Linked DNA regions of Homo sapiens: all the other regions are linked to region 1. The links are contacts of gene promoters, found by promoter capture Hi-C in blood cells and fetal thymus (Javierre and others, 2016). All regions are on one chromosome and are shown on one strand. The core of a region is centred on a gene start or on the middle of the fragment in contact, and the rest is flanking DNA. Distances in the headings are between cores, read along the strand shown. Region 1 holds the start of CLECL1 (C-type lectin like 1). Region 2 overlaps LINC02470 (long intergenic non-protein coding RNA 2470). Region 3 overlaps CLEC2A (C-type lectin domain family 2 member A). Region 4 holds the start of CLEC2B (C-type lectin domain family 2 member B).

Region 1 (3,140 bases), core at 355-2,854:
TTTGGGAGGCTGAGGCGGGCAGATCACGAGGTCAGGAGATCGAGACCACCGTGAAACTCGTCTCTACTAAAAATACAAAATATTAGCCGGGCGTGGTGGCGGGCGCCTGTAGTCCCAGCTACTCGGGAGGCTGAGGCAGGAGAATGGCATGAACCCGGGAGGCAGAGCTTGCAGTGAGCCGAGATCGCGCCACTGCACTCCAGCCTGGGTGACAGAGTGAGACTCCGTCTCAAAAAAAAAAAAATTATTGGTTATGCAACCACCTGCAGATAATAAAACCTCTAAAAGTCAGTTTTTCATGTATGTAGTAGGTATTGTCTAGTCACATACAAACAGTTGGAACAGCCCAGAAAAGGGAGAGAGTGTCATGCAGTCTTAAGAGACAGAGGTCGGTGCTCAAGCCTCATCCAGGGTCAGAAGTTGGTCTTTATAGGAGGGATCCCTAAATGCCACAAAGCCAGGATCTGTTCTCTAGTTATTTAATTAACCTAAGTTAAATTTCTTGGATGAGGGGTAGGGATGGGGTGACTGCAGTTTAGATTAATTCTGCAGAATGCACTTGAGTGGGTATTGAAAAAACCAGTTTTTCCATATGCAGATTTCCAGTTAATCTACTAGTCATAAGCTAATGGATCCTGCCATTTTTCATATCTGACATTTCTATGTCCTATGACGGTTTCACAGGTAGCTAGGCTCTCCTCCATTATTTCCCTCTGTATGGTGTTGGCTGCATTTTTCTCTGATTTTACTTCTTCATCAATGATCACATCTCCATCTACTCTCCATTTTCCAGGAATTAGTTGAAATTTTTCATCAACTAATAGGACCCTGAGCCTTTGTGTTATTGTTTTAGACTAACAAATTTTTATTCACTTAATTCAATTTTAGTGGAATTTTAGAAGAAATAGGAGATAAAATCTATGTTTGCTATGTTGTATTCGATAGTAAATTTCTGAACACCTCATTTTAAAATTAGATTTTTTTCTTTTATGTCATTACCTTGAATTATTTTAACAGAGTTATTTCTGTTTCTTAAATATATATTTTTTAGTTCAGAAGTCCTCTGCATAATTCATGTTTTACCTCAGTTTAATGTTAATATTATAAAGCATACAGGAAAGCAAATAGCTTTCAGAATTTTTAAGGTATTATCTAGACAATACAATGCATTTAGAGAGGAGGATAAAAGACATAGGGCCCCTTTCTGTAACTTTCGTAATAAAATCCCTTCTTTTTCTTGTTCTGTTTCCCAAATAGCTATCCTACTTTGGAGAAGATGCTGGAAATTCAGAGTTTCCGCCAGAGAATATATGCCTGAACTAAAAGAGGAAGTGGTCTATAGGAGAAAATGGTGAGATATCTTCTGTGGTATTAATAAAAGTTAAAAGCATTTCAAGTTTAGGCAGAAAACTAACTGAAAAACGAGAACCTACTGTATGGTTAGTAATTTCTTCCATGTCATACAAGTATTCGAGAAATCTGCTACCTTGATTAGTAAGACTGAACACATTGGTTTTGTCATTTATTCATGGAGGAAGTCCACCACCCACTTGGGGAGCAGAAGGAAATTTGCCATCTCAATTTACTTATCAGAAGTTTCTTTGCAGAAATATGATTGTCCCTTCAGTGGGACATCATTTGTGGTCTTCTCTCTCTTTTTGATCTGTGCAATGGCTGGAGATGTAGTCTACGCTGACATCAAAACTGTTCGGACTTCCCCGTTAGAACTCGCGTTTCCACTTCAGAGATCTGGTAAGCTGGATTTAGGGTGCCTTTGAGAATTAAGATTTTACTAGTTATCTCCTTTATTTCTTTCTTATGTATCTAATTGCCAAACTGAAAAGAGGAGATTGGATTCAAAGCAAAATTCATTGAATGCTAAGAATAAGAGCGAATGTTTTTAATGAAGCAAAATGTCTGTTCATAAAATAAATTGCCACTTTGGTTTTAATATGTAGAACTTTGCTTCTGTTTTCATAGCCTTTCTATTTCTTGATTTCTCGTGATGAATGTTTATATTCACACAGCAACTTCTAGCGGGATCACGCCTTTCTGCTCCACAGCTTTGCTCACTCTCAATCAAATCTGACCTTTTAACATAATGTGATAAATTCATCTCCACTGGGAAAAATACCTGTGGCAATTTACTCATATTGTTATTTATTCTTTTACAATATCAATAGGATAAAAATGTAAACTTAAGAAAACATGAAACGTTAGATTTAATTTTATAAAGTCTAGAATTAATGACTAGGTAATTGAATATTTCTGGAATCAGAGGCGATAAGCATATGCCTAAACTTAACATGGTGCCTTCATCACCAAACCCCCTCAAAAATTATAGATTTTCATAGCCAGTGTCTTTTCTATTCTTTGAAGTATTAAGGAAATTTCTCTGTCTTGTTACATTTCCATTCTCTGCTCTAGGGTAAGAATTTTTGTAGCATAGAGTTTATGTAGGTGTTTTAAATAATTTAAAGTTCCTCCTTTGTATTTGCCCTTGTGGAATGAATCTGCTACTTTGTTCGTATTTCCAAGGAATGTATTTCTTCTTTATATTTTCAAAAGTTTATAGTTATCAAAGGAATCTAGTGTGTGTCCTTTTCTGGTTGTAAAAGCATCTTGTTTCTTATTTTAAACCTTACCTCTCTATTTTACCCAGCAGAGGCTAACTTGCTTTCTTTTCTTCCAGCTTAGGCACTTTCACTTCCTATGAAATAGTGAAACATAATTTGAAAAATAACATGGACTAGAACTGCACTGTCATTCCCCTATGCTTCAAAAATGTCCTGTAGTTAGTTTCTTTTTCTAGAGGTTATTTTACTCAGTTTAAGCAACAAAACCAATATTTTTGATTCCGCATTCCAGGGTTTAATTGCCTTTCTGTCTATGGTTTGAACTTTTATAAATAAAACCTTATTCTTTTCCCAGTTTAGGGATGTGGGGCAACATCTTTTAATGTGATCTAGTTCAATCTTAGAATGCTAAAAATGAGAAAACGAACTATATGAAGATTAAATTACCTACCTATAGTCATGCTTATGACCAGAAGTCAAATATCATATTGTTCTTGTGCTGTATACGTGTGGTGTTAGATAAACGCAACTTTTGTTCTCATGCGTCACTTCGCCATCAAGCGA
Region 2 (3,140 bases), core at 206-2,705, 200 kb before region 1:
AATATTCAAGGAACAGAAAAGAAGCAGCCAGTCAATCTATCTAAAATGAGGGATTGAGTGAAGAATGCGGATCATTAGGGTCTTGCAGGCTATTGTAAAGAGTTTAGTTTTTGCTCCAAGCAAAATAGGGAGATACTGCCAAATTATGAGGGAAAATGTAATAGGATCTGACTTAAGTTTTAAAAGAATCATAATCTTTGCTGTGATGAGGTTGGCTACTGAGTCTCAAATGTAAACGGAGGGAATCATGTTATACGGCCTTTGCAGTAACTGTGCAAGATAATAATAGACTTAAAGGGCACTGGAGGGAGTGAGAATGAGAAAACTAGAAGAAATCTATGACAGCACTCTGTATTTTGTAAAGGGAATCTTTGATGCATTATCTGGGGCCGTCTTTATATTGGTTTGAACTGAGCAAGCACAATGCAAACAAAACGTGGATGTGGGCAGATGGAGCTACATTCAGCAATTGGTAAGCCTTACTAACATGTATTTACTATTAAATGTGTAAAGCGTGGTAAAGATTCTGAGTCTATAACTGGCTTCCTCCATAGATTCCTCCACATCATCCCCCCAAAAGACCCTCAAAAAATAGATGCCAAAGAGAATATTTAGACAAAGTTACGGTTTTTAGTGAGGGTTTGGCATCACATATCAATATTTATGTATATATATGGAATTGGTATATACCACATGTGAGTCACAAGTGTTCCCTTTATCCTGAACTGGATGCAAGTCTAAGCAGTTTGATCCTTTCCTCTTTGGACCTGGGACCTTGCCTTTTGTTTTTGTTTTTTTTGTTGTTGTTCCTTTGGCCTTTCATTGATGGGAGAGCATTAGAGAGTGTACTGAAGCCTACACTTTCCGCACCCACCAGTGGCCTGACATGCACAAGAGTAAGTTAAGAAGAGAACGTGTTTGCCTCAGTTTACCTTTGTTTAAAATTCAAGAACTTCTTTATATTCCATAGCTTGAAAAAACTCATCATACACTTAGAATCTATTTTGTTCTTAAAACACTTACAAATTTCTCCAACGTCAGGGTGGAGAAGGTCATATAAAGGATATTGAGTTCTCAGTATTCTTTGGTGAACTAAAGGTGACCACTAGCTACCATTTATTGACTGCCCACTTTGTAATAGATACTGGTTCTGTAGCACTCCATGCCAGATATTACATGTTGTATATAATATAATAAAGTTAGTAGCGGAACTTTCTAAAGTTGAGAAAATTCTCTTATGATTATTGTATTTACATTCAATTTGGGGTGAAAATGCACAATGATTTGAGAGGGATAATATACCCAATATTATATTTTATCTTTGAAAAATGTAAAAAAAAAAGACAGATTAAACTTTCTGACTATAAAACATAATATTATATTTTCTTGAAAGAAAATATTAACAGCTTAATGTGGCATTACATATTATATACAGGCCCATCAAAAAATGAGACAGGAGTTAACATTGGTGTATTAATTTGCTAAGTCTGCTGTAATAAATGCCACTGAATGGGTGGCTCAAAGACAGCTCTGGGGGCCGTTAAGTCCAGGATCAAGGTGTTAGTAGGGTTGGTTTCTTTTAAGGCCCTTCTCTTTGGCTTGCAGATGGCTGTCTTCTCACTCTGTGTTCATGTGGCCTTCTGTACACACTCAAGTCTGTGTCTAACTTATTTCTTCTTATAGGGACATCAGTCATATTGGATTAAGGTGCACCCTAAAGACCTTTTCTTACCTCAATCACTTCTTTTTTAAAAAAAACAAATACCTTATCTCCAAATCTGTTACATTCTCAGGTACTGGGAGTTAGGCACTTAATGTATGAAATTTGGGGGCCTATAATTCAGCCCATAACGGTTGTTATTAGTTGGCACTATGGATTGGATAAGCATAAAAATACACATATATTTTGGGAATGGGCAGGATAAAAATTTGAAGTTACCCTAGAAGTTAGGAAAGTGTACACCAGTACTGTGAAGTTCCCCCAAATAATTACAGTATAACCAGAAATGTATCATGATTAACCATCCTGTTTTCCTCCGTTTTGAATTTTGAATTTCACATGTTTATATGTATGGCATAAAATATAAATGTAGGAAATCTTTTCTTTAGATTTTATTTGTTTACTTATGTGTATCGTAATCTATTGAGTAAAGAATACCTGTTTCACTACAGTGATGGTGATAAAGAGTGGCCAAATGTGAACATTTATTTCAGCATTAATAGACCAATTTTGTAATATATGAAAGGTATGTTCAATGAAATGTCAGTTACACTCCCCTTCTTTATAATTTCTAAATGGCTAAACACATTGATATATCAATGTTTATGCTACAGTATAAAGGGAAGAATCCAATCCCTCACAAAATGATTACAATGTTTGCTATAGTATCAACAGCGTAAACTTCCAGGACTGTGTTGTTAGGCACTGAAGTCACATAGTGTCCTTTTCTTCCTGCCATCAGGGTCCTGAGGTAAAATTTGGAGAAAGATAGGAGGAGAGCAACAGCTTGTTTCACTTCCTCTACTCCTTCCACACTGCACGTGTTTTAGAAACCGGGCTAATGAAATTTACGTTCTATTTTCGAGGCTGTGCTCAGTTATTTCTCAGGAGGTCCAGTAAATAAAGAATTAATCTATTTGTTTTGTCTTTAGTCAAGTTATGAAACTAGCGAATTATTTACATTAAGTGGATTTGTTGTTGCTGTCGTTGCTGAAACTAGTGAAAGAATCGAGTTTTGTGCTATGAGTCATGGGAGCAAAACGTGAGTATTTAGAAGTGGAGAGGACCACGAAGAAGGAAGCCCTGGTGACTTGAAGAAATCATGGAGAGTTCTCCGGATTCCCACAAACCTATGGGGTTTAGATTCCAGCTAATACTTACACGGGTCTCAGAAGGACAGAGGGCAAGGGTTAACATCTGGCTGATATTAAAGTCTCTGCACCTCTTAATATTTTACTTTGGCCTAGTTTTCTTTTCTTCGCTTTTACATTTCCTGATATAATGAGTAATTCTCTTTTGAGTATTAACTTGTACCATGAACTATGCTAAATATTTTTACCCCTAAATGATGAAGAATTTTTATCATTTTTTGCTGAAATAAATGAGCAAATGAAAGATTGTTTACCTGGGATTATAGTAA
Region 3 (3,140 bases), core at 389-2,888, 180 kb before region 1:
AATAGCAAAAAGCCAATAGAGCAGTGACTAAAGCCATCACATAATAGATTTCATTGCAGTAAATTATATTTATATAGAAGTTAGTTTTATCTCTGATTATATGAAAAAACATACAATATCAGTGACATTCATACTAAAGGGTATCAATGACTTGGTTGTAGCCCAATTATCTGGAGATACTTAAGATGCAAAAAAGCAAAATGAAAATCTTTCTGATAAAACTAACCCAAACATCAACATCTGTGCTGTTTGTTGTTATAGAAGCATCAGGGAAGACAAATTAGAATGTGAATCCTAAAAGATAGAATAATTGGGGTGGGAAGCATGTTCAGCAATGTGCTGTAACATATTAAGTAATCGCTGATTCCCTTTGTTTTGTGAAAGGAATTTTTGAAGAGGTACGCAGGAACTGATATGCACTGGATTGGACTAAGCAGGAAACAAGGAGATTCTTGGAAATGGACAAATGGCACCACATTCAATGGTTGGTGAGTTTCCAATGTATTAGCAATGTTCTTATTCTGGTGTGTCATATGAAAAATTTTAAATCATTTTGAGTTGTATTATTATAAACAAATCTTTCTGTTTTCCATGTGGAATTAACTTTTCAGTCTCCAATCGATGACATATGCCCTTTCACATTGAAGCATATCCTAGAGCAACCCATTTTCTTCTCACCTTGTTAAATGACACATGGTGAAATCTTCCATTTTTATTTTTATTTGTTATTTTATCTTTATTATCAAGCTCTTGCTTGACAATTAGTTCTCTTTTGCTAATTCAAATTTAATCATTCTGCAAATTTTAAGCCAAAACTCACGTATTACTTGTACTTCTTTCCAAGTAAAGTGTATATAAGATTTCTTTGTCTTTAAAGGGTTAAAGACTTTATAGTTGTCTTTAACATTCCAAATGCCCACCACAATGAATACTACTTGTTTTTATTTATTTGTTGCTTATTTTATTTATTTTTATTTCTGTAAGCATTTCCTGGGTGGGTTAAAATTGTTAAAAGTGTTTCTTGGGTTAAAATGGTTGAGGATTGTATAGTTGTCTTTAGCTTTCCAAATGTTCATCATAAGCAATATTATATTTATTTTTTTAATTTTTGTTTATTTTTTATTTAGCTTACTTTTTTATTTATATAATTGTTTCTTGGATACATATGTATCTCTGCCTTATTATTTTAGTAACGTGCTAGATTAAAAAAAGCAACCAATAAAACAAATATTGAAATATGCAAGACAGGACAAATTATACTTATAAATAAGGAAAGATTTGTTTATCAACAAAGAAAATTAATTAAAAAATATATTTTTATTTTACTGTAAGTTCTGGGATACAAATGCAAAATGTGTAGGTTTGTTACATAGGTATGTGTGTGCCATGGTGGATTGTTGCACCTACCAATCCATCATCTAGGTTTGAAGCTCCACATGCATTAGCTGTTTGTCCTAATGCTCTTCCTCCCCTTTCTCCCACCCCCTACTGCCCCCAGTGTGTGTTGTTGCCCTTTCTGTGTCCATGTGTTCTCACTGTTCAACTCTCACTTATGAGTGAGAACATGCAGTGTTTGGTTTTCTGTTCCTGTGTTAGTTTGCTGAGGATGACAGTTTCCAGATTCATCCATGTCCCTGCAAAGAACATGGACTCATTCTTTTTTATGGTTGAACAGTATTCCATGGTGTATATGTACCACATTTTTTTTTAACCAGTCTATCTTTGATAGCCCTTTGGGTTGATTCCATGTTTTTGCTATTGTAAATAGTTCTGCAATAAACATATGTGTGCATATGTCTTTATAATAGAATTACTTATATTCCTTTGGGTATATATCCAGTAATGGGATTGCTGGGTTAAATGGTATTTCTGGTTCTAGATCCTTGAGGAATCACCACACTGTCTTCTACGATGGTTGAACTAATTTACACTCCCACCAGCAGTGTATAAGCATTCCTATCTCGCCACAGCCTCACCAGCATCTTTAGTTTTTTGACTTTTTAATAATTGCCATTCTGATTGGCATGAGATGGTATCTCATTATTGTTTTGATTTGCATTTCTCTAAAGATCAGTGACGTTGAGCTTTTTTTTTCAAATGTTTGTTGGCTGCATAAATGTCTTCTTTTGAGAGTTGTCTGTTCATATCCTTTGCCTACTTTTTGATGTTTTTTTTCTTATAAATTTATTTAAGTTCCTTGTAGATCCTGGATATTAGACCTTTGACAGATGGGTAGATTGCAAAAATTTTATCCCATTCTGTTAGTTGCTTGTTTACTCTGATGATAGTTTCTTTTGCTGTGCAGAAGCTCTTTAGTTTAATTAGATCCCATATGTCAGTTTTGGCTTTTGTTGCTTTTGACGTTTTCATCATGAAGTCTTTGCCCATGCCTATGTCCTGAATGATATTGCCTAGATTTTTTTCTAGGGGTTTTATGGTTTGGGGTTTTACATTTAAGTCTTTAATCCATCTTGAGTTAATTTTTGTATAAGGTGTAAGGAAGGGGTCCAGTTTCAGTTTTCTGTGTATGGATAGCCAGTTTTCCCAGCGCCATTTATTAAATAGAGAATCCTTCCCCCATTGCTTGTTTTTGTCAGGTTTGTCAAAGTTCAGATGGTTGTAGATGTGTGGCATTATTTCTGAGGTCTCTATTCTGTTCCATTGGTCTGTATGTCTGTTTTGGTACCAGTACCATGCTGTTTTGGTTACTGTAGCCTTGTAGCATGGTTTGAAGTCAGGTAGCATGATGCCTCCAGCTTTGCTCTTTTTGTTTAGGATTGTCTTGGCTATATGGGCTCTTTTTTGGTTTCATATGAAATTTAAAGTAGTTTTCTTCTAATTCTGTGGAGAATGTCAAAGGTAGTTTGATGGGTATTGCATTGGATCTTTAAATTACTTTGGGCAATATGGCCATTTTCACAATATTGATTCTTTCTATCCATGAGGATAAAATGTAAAAAAAAGACTATAAGCAGTCTCTTAGGTTTCTATTGCAGTATGCAGTCTCTTAGGTTTCTATTGCAGTATGTTTCAAAAGTACCAAGTAAATATAAATCTTATTTTTACTTTTTGAAAAAGTACATTGCCTAAAATTATGCCAGAAAACTGAATTTTTTTAATTTCAGGAATCTTTGAATTTG
Region 4 (3,140 bases), core at 641-3,140, 140 kb before region 1:
GTTTCTCTACATATATATTTACATATATATAAAATCTTAAAAATCACCATAAGGAAACAAATAAATCCATAAAAATGGGAAAAATATTTAAATAGGTCATTGAAAAAAGATATATGAGTTACCAATACGCACGTGAGTAAATGCTCAATATAACATCAGAGATGTACAAATTAAAATCACATTTAGATTCTACTACACGCCTACTAGAATGGTTAAATTGAAAAAGATTGGGCATATCTAATATTGCTATTTATGTGGAGCAAATAGAACCATCCAATATTCATGTTGGGAATGGCACAACTTTTTGGAAAAAAATACATTTATAAAATAAAACATACATTTTCTATGTAACCTAGCAGTTTCACATCCAGGTATTTCTTCAAAAGATTAAAAAACGTGTCAATAGAAAAACTTTTGCATAAATGTTTATTTTGACCTTATGATATCCAAGAAGTGGAAAAAGCTCAATGTCATAATGGATACATTTTATTATAAAATAGATAAAAATATTTTATGTCTGTACAATGAAATACTACTCAGTAATAAAAAGAAATTAACTGCTGATCTGTGCAAAAACATGGATAAAACTCAAAAACATTATGCTCAGTGAAAGACATCAGACTTACAAGAATTGCCAACTGTATCATTCTGCTTAACAGGAATTTCTAAAACCAGCAAAGCTCATGTTTATTGACAGTAAGTTGGCTGCTGCCTGGCTTCAGGGGTGAGGATGAACTGCAAAGCAACAGCGGGGAACATTTCCCTGTGTTGAAAATGTTTTATATCTTAACTGTTGTATCTTGACTGTTTTCCTTTTTGGAACAAAACTAAATTTCACTCAACCATACTTGAGTAATCTCTATATTTTTCTATACATGCTTTTCTAATAGTTCTTTGGATACAATCTTTTGTTAACAACAAAGGTAGAATATATTCATTTCCTCATGAATTTTCTGTCTTTTTTTTCTGTCCAAAAATGAAAAGAGCAATTTTGTTATCTGTCCTTTCCTTCTGCCCAGAAATGATTAAACCTGTATTTCTTATTCTCTTCATATTTTCTTTGTTTTAATTCCTTTGTACTACAGTTTCTTCTCTATTCTCATTTGCTTTTCCTCTTCAAGTTTCTCTCTCAGAACAAATGCAGTGTTAATCCCGAAGCCGCTTGCGGGACACTGGCTTCTTCTCCTCAGTTTCCTCCCTAATATATTTGTTGAGGGGTAATACAAAATCACTGGGAAACTGATTAGAGCAGATTTGAAGACAAAATTGTGGCCTGGTAACTTAGCAAAAGCATAATGGTGTCATCTTGTATGCTGATGATAACGTTCTGGGCACTTTGTTACTTTCGTTTTCTTTTTTCCCTCTGTGTGTCTTTGTGTGTGTTTGTGTGTGTGCTCACACCCACACGTGTGACTTTGCACGCATTTGTCTTTGAGAGAGAGATAATAGTTTTTGTTTTTCTTTCAGTAGCCAAAGTTTAAACCATTGCTTTTTCTTTGATTCTATCGCTTTTAAGGTGATCTTTCTTAACACAGGATAAGAAAGCAGTAATGTCCTAAAGAATGCTGTTGAATTAATTAGTATCAGCCTCTCCTACAGTTCTGGAAGGATACGTGGTTAAGTACCACTCCTGGATGAATCAGAAAAACAGCCACTTGAGCAATTTCGTGTTCTGTGGTTCAGATGAGAATCCCAGTTGAGAAAGTAAGAAAATATGTGTTTATTCTTCAGCTTTAAATTGTTATATCACAAACTTCCTTCCTCCTTGGCAAGCTTTCTTTTTTGACGAGAAGAAAATTGTAATAAACAACAGTATGACTAATAGATAGTCACATGGTTACTTCCAGTTTGCAAAATGCTATTTATACTTTGAGTTACTCTTCAAAAGTGGTATACCTCTAGTTTGGAGCTGTGCTGTAAAAACAAGAGTAACATTTTTATATTAAAGTTAAATAAAGTTACAACTTTGAAGAGAGTTTCTGCAAGACATGACACAAAGCTGCTAGCAGAAAATCAAAACGCTGATTAAAAGAAGCACGGTAAGAACATTTTTGTTTGTTTAGAATGACCGTTATTTATTGAAATTGTGATGCAGAATGTTAAAGCCTTCGAGAAAAGAATTAAATTTTGTGGTTTCTTTTGTGAAACTAGAAAATTCCTTCTTATAACAAGATTGAGATTTGCATATGACTGTTTTGTCCTAATAAATTCAGACTTACTTTACATTATTTGAATTACAATGGAGAAGGATTAACCATGACTTAAAACTGCTCAAGATTTAGTTTCATTTTTACTAAGTATTTTATAAAACAAATACTTGAGAAGATGATAGATATGATCCAGATACTCATACAGTTCTCAGAATGCATACATAATATGATAAATTTAGCCAATAGTTCTAATATTTTTAAAGATTGCTTTATTGGATGGTGTAAAGATACTCCGGGCTTTAGGAGTACTTAACGGAAAGAATATATCCCTTTCCTACTCTTACTAAGGAATTGCTAGTACTCCGATATCCATGGAGATGTCTTTACCAACCCTAAGAAGGATAAGGAAAGAAAATGTTCTAAAAAATACACTATGAAACAACCTGGTAACATTGGATTTATTAAATAGCAAGTTCGGAATATATAAGATCCAAGCTACATCTTTGAGATTTCAACAGGGTTTATTTATGTCAAAATATTTGAAAGAGAAAAGGCTGAAACTAAATGCATTCAATACAACGATCTATGATTTAGAGATTTAGGGACTGTGATGAGCTTTAAGCATTTCCCGTTTAACTAAATGTCAACCTACCAGCGTATGCTACGGTCAAAAAAATTATTGCTGTGGTACAATAGAATGCACACTTTATCCTTCCTCCCGTATTTTAACCGGTTTTATAATTCTGCCTAAAGTTAGATAAAACAGGTTTGCGGGGAATGAGATCAATATTTGATGGTAGCATAAAATATCATTTTAATCAAAAGTTTTAAGAAGGCCTTCCAGCCACTAGTAAAACCAGTGTTATTTTCTACTTTCAATCAATTGTATAAATTTATACATTTGTATATAAATACATTATATAATACAATATTATATATCATATTACATATGAATATATTTTAAAAGTTACTGAATAATATATTCAGTAT

The links. Contacts are between HindIII fragments. The CHiCAGO score rates a contact against its expected background, and 5 or more counts as called.
Region 2: a contact is called between a fragment that was not itself captured here and the fragment with the promoter of CLECL1 in region 1, in 1 of 17 cell types (activated CD4 T cells). The highest score is 5.1, in activated CD4 T cells.
Region 3: a contact is called between a fragment that was not itself captured here and the fragment with the promoter of CLECL1 in region 1, in 1 of 17 cell types (activated CD4 T cells). The highest score is 5.4, in activated CD4 T cells.
Region 4: a contact is called between the fragment with the promoter of CLEC2B here and the fragment with the promoter of CLECL1 in region 1, in 7 of 17 cell types (monocytes, non-activated CD4 T cells, activated CD4 T cells and 4 more). The highest score is 7.6, in monocytes.

The regions. Positions count from the first base shown.
Region 1 is chr12:9,731,561-9,734,700 of GRCh38, reverse strand. CLECL1 (C-type lectin like 1) reads left to right here and starts at 1,604. Exons shown (of 2, transcript NM_001441815.1): 1 at 1,604-1,752. The coding sequence starts at 1,671. The HindIII fragment of the contact is 6,540 bases long and covers 1-3,140 here.
Region 2 is chr12:9,936,395-9,939,534 of GRCh38, reverse strand. It overlaps LINC02470 (long intergenic non-protein coding RNA 2470), which reads left to right. Exons shown (of 5, transcript NR_104634.2): 4 at 365-472; 5 at 2,721-2,956. Among named protein-coding and RNA genes, the nearest start is that of LINC02470, 5.5 kb to the left of the region's middle. The HindIII fragment of the contact is 6,613 bases long and covers 1-3,140 here.
Region 3 is chr12:9,914,048-9,917,187 of GRCh38, reverse strand. It overlaps CLEC2A (C-type lectin domain family 2 member A), which reads left to right. Exons shown (of 5, transcript NM_001130711.2): 4 at 385-488. Among named protein-coding and RNA genes, the nearest start is that of CLEC2A, 17 kb to the left of the region's middle. The HindIII fragment of the contact is 6,691 bases long and covers 1-3,140 here.
Region 4 is chr12:9,868,104-9,871,243 of GRCh38, reverse strand. It overlaps CLEC2B (C-type lectin domain family 2 member B), which reads left to right and starts at 1,890. Exons shown (of 5, transcript NM_005127.3): 1 at 1,890-2,039. The HindIII fragment of the contact is 5,556 bases long and covers 1,776-3,140 here.